Linked DNA regions of Homo sapiens: region 1 is linked to region 2. Evidence: promoter capture Hi-C in human tissues and cell types (Jung and others, 2019). All regions are on one chromosome and are shown on one strand. Each heading gives the region's core, a stretch centred on a gene start or on the middle of the fragment in contact. The rest is flanking DNA. Distances are from core to core; before and after follow the strand shown. Region 1 overlaps ABCA12 (ATP binding cassette subfamily A member 12). Region 2 holds the start of ABCA12 (ATP binding cassette subfamily A member 12).

Evidence for each region. Contacts are between HindIII fragments. The study calls those that stand out against the background at their distance.
Region 1: a fragment that was not itself captured here is called in contact with the fragment with the promoter of ABCA12 in region 2 in 1 of the 25 tissues and cell types used here (spleen).

Annotation. Positions count from the first base shown.
Region 1 is chr2:215,094,578-215,097,347 of GRCh38, forward strand. All of the region lies in intron 2 of ABCA12 (ATP binding cassette subfamily A member 12), which reads right to left. Among named protein-coding and RNA genes, the nearest start is that of ABCA12, 43 kb to the right of the region's middle. The HindIII fragment of the contact is 3,163 bases long and covers 1-2,770 here.
Region 2 is chr2:215,137,174-215,139,888 of GRCh38, forward strand. ABCA12 (ATP binding cassette subfamily A member 12) reads right to left here and starts at 1,453. Exons shown (of 53, transcript NM_173076.3): 1 at 967-1,453. The coding sequence starts at 1,035. The HindIII fragment of the contact is 12,690 bases long and covers 1-2,715 here.

The DNA.
Region 1 (2,770 bases), core at 46-2,545, 43 kb before region 2:
CTGCCTCTTAGAACCTCTCATTTCCTTTAAGACGTTTGCCCTGCATTTCACTCCATCCTTAGCTACCTTCCCCTTGTTCTTCAGACTCTCCTCCTAGCCCCTCCTCTTGCTTGCTTATACTCAGCCCCATGAATAGCAGTGAAAGGTTACTCATAGACACTATGTGCTTTCTAATACACCATAAAAATCGAACCGCCCCCTCTACCCAGTTGCCCCATCAATCCCCATTACAACCTCTAACAGCTGCTGCCCTCGCTAAATCCCTAAGAGTCTGAGTGCAAGACATCATCTCTTTTGGTGCTCCCTCTCATCTTTTCACTTTACAGTTCCAGTTTTGCCTTACATAGTTCTCTTCTTCCTCTGTGGCTTCTCCACCTACATGTGTCTACCTATCAATGGGACAGGCACATGTATGCTAGTTTTCCTTATCCCCAAAAATCAATTTGCAAATAGGACCGAACAGTGCCCTGTCCCCCTCATGACAGCAACACTTCACTACTATTTTGTTTTGTTTTGTTTTGTTTATTATGAATACAAGACGACAGGAATAGGCCTTGACTTACTCATTGCTGAAAAAGGAAGACTCTACATTTTTAAATGAAGAGTGTTGTTTTTACCTAAATCAATCTGGCCTAGTATATAACAACATAAAAAAACTCAAAGATAGAGCCCAAAAACTCACCAACCAAGCAAGTAATTACACCAAACCCCCTTGGGCACTCTCTAATTGGATGTCCTGGGTCCTCCCAATTCTTAGTCCTTTAAAACCTGTTTTTCTCCTTCTCTTATTCGGACCTTGTGTCTTCCATTTAGTTTCCCAATTCATACAGAACCGCATCCAGGCCACATCAATCATTCTATACGACAAATGCTCCTTCTAACAAACCCACAATATCACCTCTTACCCCAAAATCTTTCTTCAGTTTAATCTCTCCCATTCTAGGTTCCCACACCTCCCCTAATCCTGCTCGAAGCAGCCCTGAGAGACATCACGCATTATCTCTCCATACCACCCCCAAAAATTTTTGCCATCCCAACACTTCACCTCTATTTTGTTTTGTTTTTCCTATTAATATAAGAAGACAGGAATGTCAGGCCTCTGAGCCCAAGCCTGCACATATACATCCAGATGGCCTGAGGCAACTGAAGAACCACAAAAGAAGTGAAAATGACCGGTTCCTGCCTTAACTGATGACATTACCTTGTGAAATTTCTTCTCCTAGCTCAAAAGCTGTCCCACTGAGCACCTTGTGACCACACCCCTGCCTGCAAAAGAACAACCCCCTTTGACTGTAATTTTCCACTACCTACCCAAATCCTATAAAACTGCCCCACCCCTATCTTCCTTTGCTGACTCCTTTTTCAGACTCAGTCTGCCTGCACCCAGGTGATTAAAAGCTTTATTGCTCACACAAAGCATGTTTGGTGGTCTCTTCACACGGACGTGCATAACAATATGTATAACAAATACACCAGAAGACCTGGGTTCAAGTAGGAAGCTCTGCCGTTTACCAGCTGTTTAATCTTGGGCAAGTTACCTACTCATAGTAATCTTTTATTGAGCCCTTACTATATGCATCTATAGACTGCAGGCATCCTTTTGTGTGATACCACAAATTATCTTATTACATGCTATCTTATTAGTTTTATTCTTATTTTACTCCCCAACAATGCTATGAAGTAGGTTCTTTGATTATCCCCAACTGAGGCACAGAAGAATTAACTTCCCAATGACACAAAGGTGAAGCTGAGATTTGAATTGAGTACCCTGATCAAAGGCCCAGGGGTTTGATCATTAGGCTCTACTTGCTTCTCTAAGAGTTTTGATTTTTCTCATCTGGAAATGGAAATCACAGTAATTAATCTCTCAGGTTTGGTACAAGAATTGAAAGATAAGTTACATGAAAGAAGTCATTATTGTCACTATTCTGTTTTCTCAGACTCCCAAATCAAAAGCCAGAAGAGTGTTTTTATTTCAAACCATTCCTTTGTCCCCCAAATCCAGTCTCTACCATATTCTACTACTTCCTCTTCCCAGTATCTTTAAGACTTACTCATTCTTCTCCATTTTTGTTTCTCCAATTACATTAGAGTACCCACTACTTTTTATATTATAATTTCAATAACTGTGTAATTCTTTTTCTTTCTCCAGCCTTTCCTTGCCCTGATCTAGTCTTCTGACACTATCTGATTAATATGCACAAAACTCCATATTTTTATTGCCATGGGTCATTCTTCATTGCTTATGGAATAAAGATATTCCTATATCTTCACCCTGGTATTTATGACTCCGGGTCTCTTGGTCTAATTTTATAGATTCAAACTCATTTCCCAGTAGAATCTAATGGAATTTAGGAAAAAGGGGGCATTTCCTTAACTGTTAAGTATCTGATACGCTAGGCACTGCTTGTATTTGTGGGAAAAACAGACTTAGGTATAGATCCTATGAAGGGAAGACCAGAGGCACAAACATCAAATAAATGCATACTTAGTCAATTACAATTATAAAGGAGGGCTGGTGTAGGAGTGAAAACTAACCTGGTATAGAGGTTCAGAGAAAGTTCCCTGAAGCAAAATAAGCCCTTTACCCCCACCTTCACGAAATTGTTCATTCTCTTCCTTTCCTTACAAAACTCCCCACTCTTCTCCATGCAAATCCAAGTATCCTATTAGTTTTTTTTTGAGGACATAGCTTAAGTCTTATTTATGCTATTAAGCTTTACCTTACTTCTCTAGCCTCCAAAAATCTTTTTTTTTCTAAAAAATCTTA
Region 2 (2,715 bases), core at 203-2,702:
CTACTTCCTCCTCTTACTACACACATCAAAACACTCAAGTAAAGTGTCAGGCAATCCAAGCAAGCCTGGAGCGAGATAAGGTGCATAGATAAAGTGCTGGTTTCTGTGTGATGCATATTATTTGCATAATATTTACATTACTCATTCAAGGCTGGGAATTACCACTTTAAAATAAAGTATATTGAATACCTTTTTGGATTTCCCCGATTTTCAAACATTCTTCTGAATATATAACAACTCCCAGAAACCAATTCCTTTCTCAATCATCCTGGGAGCCATCTGATGAGGATCTAATAGCTAACTTTGTAATTAGAACGCAAACATTAATGTAAGAGTACAAAAAAGACGTTGCAATGAGCAAGAGAAGATAGATTGTAGTAGTAAAGCTAAGTGATTCAATAATATTCTTAAAACATAGCACATATACATACTCTTGTTTGGTATTCCCAGTAAATGATTTTTAGATACTAAAATTTCTCAGTAGCTTTTCTATACTAATAGCCTTCAAACTATTTCTGTTCTGTATTTTACCTTTCAACCAAACTTTCTATGGCTTTCAGTTTTCCAGTATATTTCTTCCCATTTATTGTACATTTCAAATAATACTTTTCTTTCCTCTATCCCATTTTTAACTACATTAAGAAAAATTCTGAAAGCCTTTTGGCTTGAAACCAGAATTCAACGTTCCAGTTCAGCCAGTAATGAGTCATGTTCTTTTTTTTTTGCCCAGGGCATGTCCTGGTTTACTCTTTAATTTACTGAAATGAAAAGGCTGCTTTTGGGGGCATGTTAAGACTCGCTCCATTAGCTATAAGACAGATAGGGGGATGAATTCTAAATATCTTACTTCCTGCTTTGGAAAATGCCTTTAAACTCTTCTGTTTTCACTTCTCATTAAGATCACATTTTAGGATTACCTGGCGTATTGCCCCATGACCCATACTCCCACACTTTTTTTTAACTCACCGGCTGCCTTTTTACACCTAGCCAATTTTTCCAGACCAGGATCTGAAGCTGATGAAACAGGGAAGCCATCCTTCAAATGCCCCAAATGAGAGATTTCCTCTTCTTTTCTCCACTCCACAAATGAAGAACTGATGCCCCGTCCAACTTGCTGTATGTCAGTGTATCAGTACCCCTTTCACGGCATAGCTTCCTTGAGGGCTGGGGTAAGAAACCCACAGTTCTTCTGTTTCTGCTGGATTTTTCCCTGTGGTTAATCCTTAACCAAGAGGCACTTCTCAATCAACTCTTCTTCCAAAAGAAGGACCCAGATCAGTATCTTTGGGTGGCTTATGCTTATTTTAAAATAATATCCAGTTGCTGCTTGTTGCACGAAGTCCAGACTCAAGAGAGAATGAGCATCATTCAGATAATGCCTCACTGAAAAAAAAAAAAAAGCAGCAGCTGAACCCACACCTCCTACTCTCCATGAAATTAATTGCCTATCCACACCTTAGAGAACATGTCACCTGCACTGGATGCGTCACAGGGACTAGGGGGTGGGACCTTTGCAAGGCCAGTAGGACTTGTCCTACATTCTCTTGTCTTCTTTCCTGCACACAGTGTCTGCTCTAGCAGAGGCAGGGCACAGAGAGCATTTCACAGACACTGGGCCCAGTGACTCTTTAATATTAAAGTGTCATTAAAATGATTTAAGTCAATAAGGCCAGAGCTTAGCTGCAAAGCTCTGAGCCTCAGCCCATCATTAGATATACTAGGGAAAGTGTCCACCTTTAACCTAAAGTTGAATGTTTCGATTTTGGGGGAAGAAACTATGTTGGCCAGGTCCCACCTTTCATCACAATGTACTAGGTTAAGCACAGGGCAGAAAAGGAAAGGTAGGCTGTAGGGGACATAAATTACAAACTGGAGTCCCTCAATTCGTGAGTGGAGATTCACGTGTCTATTACAGACAAGCCACATTGTTTCAGGCTCTTATAGTGAAAGGGGACACAGGCTGATCCAAGACATTTCTATTTCCTCTTTCCATGATACATTCCTCCCTCTCTAAGATCCTGCCTTTCAAAGTTATCCCCAAGTTGACATCTTCAATGAAGCCTTTTTGGATATATCCCATAGGATAGATTCTCTTGCCTTTGAATCATTCTTTGTTGCCCTCTCTCAAGGAACTTAAAGTTTTTGCATTATTTTTATTTGTGTATGTCTTATTTTTCCTACAAGATTATAAATTATTTGAGGACATGGACTATTTTATATCACAGTACTTTACATATCATTAGTGTTCAATACTTGCTGCTGAATGTAATTGAATAAACTACTGGAGCCAAGGCTAGTAGGGTGAAGCTCCCCTTTGATCCTCACACCTACCCTGACTAATCCAGACTTTACTTGCAAAATCCGTTAAAGCATTAAGAGTTCTCCCTTCGCCAGGTGCGGTGGCTCATGCCTGTAATCCCAGCAATTTGGGAGGCCGAGACGGGCTGATCACTTGAGGTCAGGAGTTCAAGACCAGCCTCGCAAACATGGTGAAACCCCGTCTCTACTAAAAACACAAAAATTAGCCAGGCATGGTGGTGGGCACCTGTAATCCCAGCTATTTGGGAGGCTGAGGAGGGAGAATCGCTTGAAACCGGGAGGCAGAGGTTGCAGTGAGCTGAGATGGCGCCACTGCACTCCAGCCTGGGCAAAAGAGTGAGATTCCATCCCCCCTCCAAAAAAAGGAATCTAGCACAGGTCCTGCCTCATAGTAAG